Regions from separate parts of the Homo sapiens genome. Here all the other regions are linked to region 3. Evidence: promoter capture Hi-C in 16 types of primary human blood cells and fetal thymus (Javierre and others, 2016). All regions are on one chromosome and are shown on one strand. The core of a region is centred on a gene start or on the middle of the fragment in contact, and the rest is flanking DNA. Distances in the headings are between cores, read along the strand shown.

The links. The method cuts DNA at HindIII sites, captures the fragments that hold promoters and counts their contacts. A CHiCAGO score of 5 or more calls a contact.
Region 1: a contact is called between a fragment that was not itself captured here and the fragment with the promoter of CLEC12B in region 3, in 4 of 17 cell types (megakaryocytes, monocytes, M0 macrophages and 1 more). The highest score is 5.5, in megakaryocytes.
Region 2: a fragment that was not itself captured here is called in contact with the fragment with the promoter of CLEC12B in region 3 in 7 of 17 cell types (M0 macrophages, neutrophils, monocytes and 4 more); the score reaches 9.8 in M0 macrophages.

The regions. Positions count from the first base shown.
Region 1 is chr12:9,797,414-9,801,894 of GRCh38, reverse strand. It overlaps a transcript of KLRF1 not described here. Among named protein-coding and RNA genes, the nearest start is that of KLRF1, 28 kb to the left of the region's middle. RefSeq lists an enhancer at 3,742-3,841. The HindIII fragment of the contact is 409 bases long and covers 2,365-2,773 here.
Region 2 is chr12:10,148,794-10,152,992 of GRCh38, reverse strand. No RefSeq gene overlaps it. Among named protein-coding and RNA genes, the nearest start is that of CLEC7A, 21 kb to the right of the region's middle. The HindIII fragment of the contact is 1,645 bases long and covers 1,231-2,875 here.
Region 3 is chr12:10,008,986-10,013,317 of GRCh38, reverse strand. CLEC12B (C-type lectin domain family 12 member B) reads right to left here and starts at 2,691. Exons shown (of 6, transcript NM_001129998.3): 1 at 2,468-2,691; 2 at 435-533. The coding sequence starts at 2,558. The HindIII fragment of the contact is 2,412 bases long and covers 1,057-3,468 here.

The sequences.
Region 1 (4,481 bases), core at 1,320-3,819, 210 kb after region 3:
AAGCAATTGCAACAAAAGCCAAAATTGACAAATGGGATCTAATTAAACTAAAGAGCTTCTGCACAGCAAAGTAAACTATCCTCAGAGTGAACAGGCAACCTACAGAATGGGAGACAATATTTGCAATCTACCCATCTGATAAAGGTCTAATATCCATAATCTAAAAGGAACTTAAACAAATTTACAAGAACGAAACAAACAATCCCATTCAAAAAGTGGGCAAAGGATATGAACAGACACTTCTCAAAAGAAGACATTATGTGGCCAACAAACATATGAAAAAAAGCTCAACATCACTTGTCATTAGAGAAATGCAAATCAAAACCACAATGAGATACCATCTCACACCATTCAGAATGGCGATTATTAAAAAGTCAAGAAACTATAGATGCTGGTGAGGCTGTGGAGATAGTGGAATGCTTTTACACTCTTGGTGGGAATGTAAATTTGTTCTACCATTGTAGAAGACAGTGTGGTGATTCCTCAAGGATCTAGTACCAGAAATACCATTTGACCCAGCAATCCCATTACTGGGTATATACCCAAAGGAGCATAAATCATTCTACTATAAAGACACATGCAGACATATGTCTATTGCAGCACCATTCACAATAGCAAAGATATGGAACCAACCCAAATGCCCATCAATGATAGACTGGATAAAGAAAATGTGGTACATATACACCATGGAATACTATGCAGCCATAAAAAAGAATGAGATCATGTCCTTTTCAGGGACATGAATGAAGCTGGAAGCCATCATCCTCAGCAAACTAACACAGGAACAGAAAACCAAACACCGCATGCTCTCACTCATCAGTGGGAGTTAAACAATGAGAACACATGGACACAGGGAGGGGAACAACACACACTAGTGCCAGTCAGGGGATGGGGGGAAGGGGAGGGAGAGCATTAGGACAAATAGCTAATGCATGTGGGGCTTAAAACCTAGATAGTGGGTTGATAGGTGCAGCAATCCACCATGGCACACGTATACCTATGTAACAAACCTACATGTTCTGCACTTGTATCCTGGAACTTAAAAATAAATGAATAAAATTTTTTAAAAAATGAAAAGATAAGCCACAGACCAAAAGAAAATACTTAACAAAAGACATATCAGATAAAGGACTGTAATCCAAAATAGATAAATAACTCTTAAAGCTCAACAATAAGAAAATGAATTACCTGATTAAAAAATGGGCCAAAGATCTGAACAGATACCTTGTTAAGAAGATATACAAATGGAAAATAACCTTATTAAAATATGATCAATATCATATGTCATTAGGTAATTTCACATTAAAACATGCTATTACAGAAAAACCAATTACTATATGTTCTCACTTATAAGTGGGAGTTAAGTTATGAGTATACAAAGGCGCACAGAGTGATATAATGGACTTTGGAGACTCAGAAGGGGAAGAATAGGAGGGGTTTTGGAATAAAAAACTACATATTGGGTAAAGAGTGCACTACTTGGGTGATTGATGAGTGTAATAAAATCTCAGAATTCACCACTATATAAATTCATCCATGTGACCAAAAATCACTTGTACTCCAAAAGCTATTGAAATTTAAAATTTTCTTTGAAAACATTTACACACCAATTAGAAATGTCAAAATCCAAAATATGAACAACACCAAATGCTGATAAAGATGTGGAGCAATAGGACTTTCATTCTTTGCTGATTGAAATGCAAAATGGCACAGCCACTTGGAAAACATGTTGACAGTTTCTTAGAAAACTAAACACATTCTTACCATATAATCCAGTAATCCCACTTCTTGGTCTTTATCCAAATGAGTCGACAACTTATGTCCACACAAAAGCCTGCTCATGAATGTTTACAGCAGCTTTATTCATAATTGCCAAACCTTGGAAGAAACCAAGATGTCTTTCAGTAGGTGAATGGATAAACTGTGGTACATTCAGACAATGGAACATTCTTCATCACTAAAATGAAATGGGCTATCAAGCTATGAAAAGGCATGGAAGACCCTTAAAATGCGTAGTTTAAATAATTAAATAAATAAAAGATTTAAATAAAATACAAGATTTAAATAAAAAGTGTGCATATTAAAAATACATGAGCTGCAAAAAATATATTCTTGAGGCACAAAACTATAAAATATCACATAATCACTTTTTTAAATAATTATGGGGCCCTTTTCTTATAGATGTTTGTAATGTGTTTGCTTACATGCCTTTAATGGATATGTGCTCTGAATTTATATATTCATTGTCTAATTATTTTAAAAGTTAATATTAAATGCCTATACATTATAAATTAATAAATCAAGAACTTATTGCTTGTCAGCTAATGTGCTAGATACTGGAGAATAAAGATATTAGTAAAAGCTTCAACTGCCTCAAAGGATTTTATATTTACAATACAGGCTAAGCTCAAATATAGAGAAAAAGTGTATGATGGCAAGGCTTAGAAATCTCTAGAACTACATCTGATAGAACAGAAAGGGAACAAATTGACAAGACAAAGGTGGATATTAAGATACTTTTTCTGATTGAGCATTGGTAGTGGTAATTCAAACATGAAGTGATTTCTACATGTATTCTACATGCATTATATCATTAGAACCTCTTATCACACTTTAGTTGCAGCTTAGATTGTTAACCTTGTTTGAAAACGAAGAATAGAAACATAAGAAGAATCATATTATTCTCCAAAGTTACCTAGAGATAGTAAAATTCTGGGGCTAGGACTTAGAGGCCTCAAATCTGACTTCATGGAGCTGTTTCTCCACACAAGCTTTACCTAGACTAATGAGTAGTACAATCGGTTCTATACTCTCTTAAAACCTTAGTCCTTCAACAGCTGGAAACACACTGCTTTGCAAATCACTTAAATATCTAGTTAAATTAGTTTTTTTTTTCTTTTTATGCAAACAATGACCCCTGAAAGGAAAAAAAAAAACACCCTGGTACTTCTATGGGATCAAAAAATAGATATTATATAATAAAATACAACAGATGATATAATTTCTGTGATTTCACATCATACAAAGTTGAAACATATATGAAAAATATATTAAAACCATGTGATTGAACATTCACATAAAGTACAAAAGACCAAAGTTTAGAAAATAAACTGCAAAATCCTCTGTTTCTGCTCATATATCTAAGCCTTTTCTCTTGGTCATAAACACTACATAGATAGAGAAAGCAGCTTTGCTCTTAATAATACCTGAGCATTGAAGACCGTTTTCCCCAAAATAGCTTCTACCATACACGCATTCATTCTTTCACTCATTCACTCACTCAATATCAATTTAATACCTAGAATGTTTCAGATATTGAAAGAACAATAACTTAAGATCAATGATTTATAATTGAGAAAGGAAATGTCAAATATCGGTGATGGAGGTTATTCTTACCTAATTTCTATTTTTTAATTTATATACCATTAATACTTTATGAAACACATGAAATAGAAGAGTCTATAACTTTTATTTGTGTATTTCTAACATCTGTCAGTTTCTGGCCCACTTGTTTGTCTAATAAGTGTTTGACTAATGATCAAATGGAAAATAGAATCTGGTGAAGGTGTCCAAACGCAGAAAGGAAGGTGTTTACAGGGAGGACAATATGAGAGCCCAGCACTTTACCTCCTGACCACACAGTAGCAGGTGTTTCCTTAAGGCCTCACACCACCACTAGAGAGCAACAGTTCACAAGCGAACTGAAGGTCTACGTGCAAGAGCCCTTGCAGGAATGCAGAAGAACAGGAAGGCTGTGAGGTGTAGGCCTTGTGTCAGAAATTGGTCTGAGGAGCTCATTTACTCCAAGGCAGTTATTTGAAACACAAAATCAAGTGATGTGCTTTAATTCGCTGGCCCTGTGCCCTCTATTATTTAACCCGATTCTTTCTTCGAGTCATACAAAACAATTACTCTAATTATTTTTTTAAAATATTTTTAAGCATCTGTCCTGATCTGGTCATTGTGCTCAGTATTGCCACACTGCCTATTATTATGTGCCTGCATTCACCATCTGTTATACAGCAGGAATAATGAATAGTTTCATCTTTTAAATTTTAGTTTTTAGGATTATCTCCCCCTCCAAAAACATTGAAATGATTACAATTATATAAATTAAAGTAATTTTGATTTAGGATATCCCCCTACTATTAAATACCAAATAAGACAACTGAATATGCATTTCAAGTTTATGAATGCAAATAAACATATATGTTAATGATTAGGAACCCTCTTGTATTAGAGTCAATTGCCCTCAAGCTGGTAAAGAAATTAGAGTTTCTTTTTCCCAGCTTTATTATATAAAAAGTTTATATGCCACAAATAGGCTAATTTGATTGCTTTATAAACATATTGCCTCTTTAAAATACAAAGTAAAATAACTTGCAAAAGGAACTTGAAATCTGTCAATGTCAATCTGTTCTAGCACAATCTATCCCAAATCTTCAATAGGCCTGAAAACTCCAACATTACTGTAAATTCAT
Region 2 (4,199 bases), core at 804-3,303, 140 kb before region 3:
TTTATTTATTTATTTATTTATTTTTGAGATGGAGTCTTGCTCTGTCACCCAGGCTGGAGTACAGTGGCACGATCTCAGCTCACTGCGACCTACACCTACCAGGTTAAAGCGATTCTCCTGCTTCAGCCTCCCAAGTAGCTAGGATTACAGGCGAACACAACCAGGCCTGGCTAATTGTTTGTATTTTTTGGTAGAGACAGGGTTTCGCCATGTTGGCCAGGCTGGTCTTGAACTCCTGACCTCAAGCGATCCACCTGCCTTGGCCTTCCAAAGTGCTGTGATTACAGGCGTGAACCACCACACCCAGCCTGAAAAAAATAATTTTAAGAACGAACCATACTGAACTTCTGGAATTGACACATTTACTACAAGAATTTCATAATACATTTGGAAGCATTAATAGCAGAATAGACCAAGCTGTGAAGAAATTCAAAGACTGGTTCTTTGAATCAACTCAGTCAGACAAAAATAAAGAAGAAATAATTTTAAAAAAATGGACAAAAGCCCTGAGAAATATGGAATTATATAGAGAGACCAAACCTATAACTCATTGGTATTCCTGAGAGAGGAGAGAGAGTAAGCTATTTGGAAAATATATTTGAGGATACGATCCATGACAATCTCTCCACTCCCACTAGAGATGTTAACATACAAATTTAAGAAATATAAGGCCTGGCGTGTTGTCTCATGCCTGAATCCCAGCATTTGGGAGGCCAAGGTGGGTAGATCACTTGAGGTCAGGAGCTCAAGACCAGCCTGGCCAACATGGCAAACCCGTCTGTACTAAAAATACAAAAATTAGCTGGACATGGTGGTGCATGCCTGTAATCCCAGCTACTTGGGAGGCTGAGGCAGGAGAATCGCTTGAACCTGGGAGGCAGAGGTTGCAGTGAGCCAAGATCGTGCCATTGCCCTCCAGCCTGGGCAACAAGAGTGAAACTCCATCTCAAAAAAAAAAAAAAAAGAAGTACAGATAACCCCCATGAGATACTAGACACAACAAGCATTCCCAAGGCACATAGTTATCAGATTCATCAAGGTTAATGCAAAAGAAAAAATGTAAAGGCATCTAGAGAGAAGGGTCAGGTCGTTTACAAAATGAGGACCATCAGGCTAGTAGCAGACCTCTAAGCAAAAGCCTTATGAGTCAGAAGAGATTGGGGCCTATTTTCAGTGTTCTTAAAGAGAAGGAATTCCAACCAAAAAATTTATGTCCTGATAAACTAAGCTTGACTGGTGAAGGGGAAATAAATTTCTCAGACAAGCAAATGCTTAAGGGAATTTGTTACCACTAGACTAGCCTTACAAGACGTCTTTATAGGAGTGCTGTAAAGATGGAAATGAAAGAATGATACCTGCTATCACAAAAATGCATTTAACCACATAGCCCACCAACAATATAAAGCAACTATGCAATAGAAACTACAAAGTCACCAGCTAAGAACATGATGACAGGATCAATGTCACATATCAGTACTAACTCTAGGCCAGGCACAGTGGCTCATGCCTGCAATCGCAGCACTTTGGGAGGTCGAGGTGGGCGGATCACTTCAGGTCAGGAGTTCACAACCAGCCTGGCCAACATGGTGAAACCCCATCTCTACTAAAAAATACAAAAATTAGCTGAGCATGGTGGTGTCTGCCTGCAGTCCCAGCTTCTCAGGAGGCTGAGGCAGGAGAATCACTTGAACCCAGGAGGCAGAGGTTGCAGTGAGCCAAGATCGTGCCACTGCATTCCAGCCTGGGTGACAGAACAAGATTCTGTCTCAAAAAAAAAAAAAATTATTCTGGTGTGGTGGTGCATGCCTGTAATCCCAGCTACTCGGGGGGCTGAGGCATGAGAATCTCTTGAACCCAGGAGGTGGAGGTCACAGTGAGCTGAGATCGTGCCACTGCACTCCAGCCTGGGTGACACAGTGAGACTCTGTCTCAAAAAAATGAAATAAAATAAAAAATAAAAATACAATCAAACAGGAACTGAATGAAATTGAGTTGCAAAACACCATATGAAAGATCAATGAAACCAAGAACTGGTTCTTTGAAAGAATAATCATGATTGATAGGCCATAAGGTAGGTTAATAAAAAAAAGAAATAAGCACAATCAGAAATTACAAAGATGAGATTACAACAAATTCCTCAGAAATACAAAGGATCCTAAGAGACCATTATGAAAATCTCTATGCAAATTAAAAATCTAGAGGAAATGGATAAATTCCTGGAAACATATAACTTCCCAAGATTGAACCAGGAAGAAAGCAAAAACCTGAACAGACCAATAACAAATTCCAAAATTGAAACAATAATAAGAAATCTACCAACCAACAAAAGTCTTGAACAAGATGGCTTCAGAGCTGAATTATAGCAGATGGACAAAGAAGAAGTAGTACAAATTCTACTGAAATTATTACAAAAAATTGAGGAGAGGGCTCCTCCCTAACTCATTCTATGAAGCCAGTATCATTCGGACAGAACAAAAAAGAAAACTTGAGGCCAACATCCTCAATAAACATAGATGCAAAAATCCTCAGCAAAATACCAGCAAACCAAATCCAGTAGCAGATCAAAAAGTTAATTCACCACAATCAGTTGGGTGCAGTGGCTCATGCCTGTAATTCCAGCACTTTGGGAGTCTGAAACAGGAGTACTGCTTGAGCTCAGGAGCTCGAGACTAGCCTGGGCAACATAGCGAGGCCTGTCTCTAAAAAGAATAAAAATTAATAATACAAAAAAAAGTTAATTAACCACAATGAAGTAGGCTATATCTATGATTCAAGGTTGGTTTGACATATGCAAATCAATATATGTGACTCACCACATAAACAGAATTTAAAATAAAAATTATATGATCCCATCTCAACAGACATGGAAAAAGCTTTCAGTAAAATCCAACCTCTTCTTATGGTTAAAAAAAAAAACCTCAACAAACTAGGCATTAAAGAAAGATAACCTCAAAATAATAAGAGTCGTCTAAGACAAACCCACAGACAACATTATATTGAATGGGCAAAAGCTGGAAAAATTTCCCTTGAGAACTGGAACAAGATAAGGATGTCCACTTTCACCACTCCTATTCAACATAGTACCAAAAATCCTAGCCAGAGCAATCAGGCAAGAGAAAGACTTAAAAGGTATCCAAATAGGAAAAGAAGTCAGACTATCTCCCTTCACTGACAACATGATTCTATACCTAGAAAACTCTAAAGACTTCGCCAGTATGCTCCTAAAACTGATAAATGATGTTAACAAAATTTCAGGATACAAAATCAATGTACACAACTTAGTAGCATTTCTAAACACCAGTAACATTCTAGCTGACAGCCAAGTTAAGAGCATAATCCCACTTATAATAACCACTAATAAAATGATTATTGGGAGTACCACTAAACAAGGAGGTGAAAGATCTCTGCAAGGAGAACTGCAAAACACTGCTGAAAGAAATCAGAGCCAATACAAATAAATGGAAAAACATGTCATGCCCATGGATTGGAAGAATCAATATTGTTAAAATGGCATACTGCCCAAAGCAATGTACAGATTCAATGCTATTACCATCAAATTACAAGTATCATTTTTCACAGAATTAGAAAAAACAATCCTGAGATTCATACAGAACCAAAACAGAGCCTGAATAGTCAAAACAATCCAAAGCAAAAAGAGCAAAACTGGAGGCATCATGTTACCCAACTTCAAACTATACTATAAGGCTACAATAACCCAAAGAGCATGATAGTAGTACAAAAACAGACACATAGACTGAGGGAACAGAATAGAGAACCCAGAAATAAAGTTGCACACCTACAATTATCTGGTCTTTGACAAAGTTGACAAAAACGACCAATAGGAAAGGACTCCCTGTTCAGTAAAAGTGCTGGAATATACTGGCTAGCCATATGCAGAAGATTGAAACTGGTGAAACCCTACCTTTCATCACACATAAAAATTGATTCAAAATGGATTAAAGACTTAAGACCTCAAACTATAAAATTCTAGAAATAAATCGAGGAAATACCCTACTCAACATCAGCTAAGGCAGATAATTTATGGCTAAATCTTTAAAAGCAATTGCAACAAAAACAGTAATCAACAATAGGACCTAATTAAACTAAAGAGGTTTGCATAGCAAAAGAAACTATCAACAGAGAAATTAGACAATCTACAGAATACGAGAAAATGTTAGTAAAGTATGCATCTGACAAAG
Region 3 (4,332 bases), core at 1,442-3,941:
ATTTCTCTCCACTAGAGAAGTTTCATGTAAGCAGACTGAACCTAGTCTAGTGTTAAGTCTTTCAGGTAAATAAAAATAGCAAGCACTTCCTTCAATACATATTTCTTGACTTTATTTCTCAGCATTGGAATGATAAGTGAATGTGTGTCTAGGCAGAAAAGAGGCTCTTTATTCTAATGAATAACTGGAAACAAAGAGTCTTTGTCTAAGTCCAGTTTAGCTTATCAAGATAAAACAATGAATTTAGAACCAAATCCTGATAATGTCTTTTGCCGGTTTTTTGGGAAGATATGACGAATAGGAGAGATATGAGACAGCAGAAAAGTATCAGACGATTCAGGATGCTAGGACCCATCTACAATCCAAGCTGAAAGTACATGGTTTACAATATGTTTTCTAGTTGCCTTTGTTGGGTTTGATGCTGATATACTTACACATCATCCCCAATGTCACCAGCCCAATCAGCAACATCAGGCAAAGAGTTACCAGACCCAGAGCAGCATGACGCCAAATGGGAGATGGAGCTGGATGCCCTGGAGAAAGCCAAAAGAGCAATCAGCACACAGAACTGCTTTGTGCTTGTTTCACTTTGGTTTGTTTATTTCTCCCACTTAGGGAGCTTCCCGATACTAACGTTTCTTTCTTGCTTCTTTAATGCCCTCATTTAGAAAATACCTAATATGAAGTGCAATGAGGGTGCCATCCTTGTTTCCCCTCCATTTCTCCACCGCTCTCCTTCACTTTAAGAGGAAGCTTCGTTGGGGGAGGGGGGAGGCATACCTTTAGGAGATATACCTAATGCTAAATGACGAGTTAATGGGTGCAGCACACCAGCATGGCACATGTATACATATGTAACTAACCTGCACATTGTGCACATGTACCCTAAAACTTAAAGTATAATAATAATAAAATAAAAAGGAAGCTTCTCCTAATTTCAAGGTTTTTGTTTTACATCATTGCCCACTTTTCTTCCTCAAGTTTATTGAATTCATAAATGAGAGATCTAAAAACTGCTTTTCTGGATGATGCTGACAGTAGGAGACACCTCAAGCTTTTGAGCTCAAAAGTCTCTATAAGGCACATGTTCTATCTGCCTTGTAAAAGTGGATTCGACTTTTTAAAGTATCTTTTACCTGTTAACAATAACTTATCTATTATTCATGCTATTTATCACCTAATAAATAATGAATGAATACTGAATGAAAGAAGGAAAGAATGTGCAGTCTAACCTACAAACAGCAGAATAGACCAGAAAGCCGTTAGCATCCTAGTCATTGTTGTTGTTTAAAATATCAATGGTTGTCATGTTTTCCTTAGCTTCATATCCCTTGATTTAGGTCCAAATAACATCTAGCGCAATGTTTTAGATACAGCATGACAGACTCTAGGTACACTGTGATATGCACCATATCCACACCTCCTTTTTCCTCACAGGTTAGAATTAGAATTAAAAAGTAAAACAAAACAAGGCAAAAATGTGTAACCACATTTATTAGACATATGCAAAGTCTATTCCCATCGGCTTTTTGTAAATATCCTTCCCTCAAATGTCATGCACCACACAAAATGTAAAGATAAATCTAGAGGGCAGGAGAAAGTAGTTCAGATGACTGACATGATTCAGGAGAACCTGGATAGTTAACATATCTGAAAATAAGAGATGTGGTCTTATATATTAAATCAGAGTCTTGACCATGGAGACTGCTATTTTTCCAATTAGGCATAAGAGAATGAGCTGAAGACCAGCACTGAGACTGGGCTTCCCCACATAGCAGTTGTGTGAGCTTGCTTAAATTATCTAATTTCTCTCACCCTCAGTTTTTTCATCTATGTAATGGAGAAAATACTAATATTCGAATATTATTGTGGATTTTCATTACAATTATATCTGTATATAATGTACATAAAATACTACCCAGATACTATTATTACTGGTTCAACATTACAAATTATGCTCGGATTTCAACTACCCTAAAATTTGAAAAAATACTGACAAAAGAAAAATTAGCTCTGATCTATTTCTAATCCACTCACTCATCTTCCAGTTTTCTCTTAAGTAACTTACATCATCTAAAAGAAAAACGTCCTCTACCTTCTCTATTTTAGAAGCCTCCAATCTGGTTTCTGAAAGAATATCCTCCTGGCATCTCTAACAAGGTATAAATATCAAGGATTATATTCATAAGAAGAAATCTCTAATTCCCCAAGCTCAATTTCTGGCATGTGCAGTCAGAATTTCTCTGACTGTGTGATATCACACAACTTTAAAGAGGTTCTGAAAGCCACATATTTTCACTTCAACCTTGGGAACACTCACTTTTCTAATACATTCCACAACTATTTGTCCCCATTTTGGAGATTTCACAGCACATGTCTTTAACGCCAGTATTAAAGCTGGCACCTCAAAGCATTTAACACCTGTCCACTCCCCCAAGGACACAGCTGGTCTTCTCTGAACTCCTACCTCTTTTTCTTAGGTTATTTCCATCTCGGTTATTCCTTGCTCCAGCAGAATCCTGAAATGTGAGTGTCGCGTAGGTCACTTCTTCAGACATTGTAGAAGAAAACGCTACTTTAAATTATCTAATTAATGTTTCAATATCTTGAGGCCTGGGAACAGCATGTGTTTTTCAAGGCTGGGAGCTTTGATGTAGTCACTCAGCTGACCCAGACACACTCTACTGCCCCTCTGTAAGAGAAGAATGACAATTTGTTTCTCTACAGAGAAAGTGAGAAAAGCCAAATATTCTCCTTAGAGATATTCTCATTAGAATGTTACAGATCTCAAACTGTCTGCTCTGTCAGAACTGTTTCTTGCTGTGCAGCAAAGAAGGGGTGCTTGAGGCAGAGCAGGAGGAACATGAGGGAATTCCCATGATCCTCGGGGTAGAGGATGCTCTGAATGTTTCAGAAAAGAGTCAGGTTGTCTTCTTTACATCTATCTAAGGCTAGCTAATCTGCCTGGAGACATTGGTTCTAGTTTATTCTCAGCCACATTAGATATTAAGCAGAGAGACACACATTAAGACAGAAAGAGCTGTGCCACACACCTGGCTGCTATTATAGAAAATTCAAGCGTGTGTGTGTGTGTGTGTGTGTGTGTGTGTGTGTGTGAGAGAGAGACAGAGAGAGACAGAGAGAGAGAGACAGAGAGAGAGAGACATGGTGTTGGTAATGGAGCATGGAGAAGAAACTGATAGCTACTTAGCTACTTAACGTGAGTATGAATGGGAGTGCCCTCTTCTGGCATGGTTGGGAAAGTTCCTAACAGAACAACAACCATGGGATAATCCTGCAGACAGCAAGGAATACACAGGACAAGATTTTAAAAAGATAACTACCGGAAGTTAATACATCTGTGGTAATTTGTTACAGCAGCAATATGTAGTTAATACAGAACCCAGGAAAATATGGGGGGGGAGCGCTATATATGAGGGACGAAATTAAGGAATCTCCTCTAAAGCTTTCCTTTGGGGAGAGGCAGAATATTAGATAACTGTACTTAGGGGAAGGATTGGGTATGAGTTTTGTGGTTTCAGATGAGTGGGGAGTGATCTAAAACTTCCAAGGTTCATATCTGTGTGGAGATTATCTTAGTCAAAGGTGTCCAGCGTGAGGTGCACTCACCCCACAGCTGTGAAGCAGATGCAGAAAGGCAATGTAAAAACTTTCTCTTTAGGAACGCTGTGCATGATCTCTAAACACCTAAATATACATATGTTACTTGTTCATGTTTTTTGTTTTTTTTTTTTTCAAATTGATGAAATAATCAAAAAAATGTTTGGAGGCTCTAAGTCATATATCAATAAAACTCCACTATCAAAAATATTGAAACAAATAATAAATCTATGCTTATGTTTACTATTCTAGTTGAATTCAGAAAAGGCAGAGACCATTGACATGAGGACCAGTTTAAATAGATGATTACAAAAATAAGAAATTAAGAATGGTTTTCTATCTCTGTTCTGGTCCGTGTCCGGAGTTGGTTCCTGCCGGTGGGTTCCTGGTCTCGCTGACTTCAAAAATGAAGCCGCGGACCTTTGCGGTGAGGGTTACACCTCTTAAAGATGGCACGGACCCAAAGACTGAGTGGTAGCAAGGTTTATTGTGAAGAGCAGGATGACAAACCTTCCACAGCATGGAAGGGGTCCCAAGCGGGTTGCTGCTGCTGGCTGGGGTGGCTAGCTTTTATTTCCTTACTGTCCCCTCCATGTTCCGTTTCTGTCGTATCAGACTGACCTTTTTTCAATCCTCACCGCAATTGGCTACTTTTAGAATCCTGCTGATTGGTGCGTTTTACAGAGCGCTGATCGGTGCGTTTTACGTGGC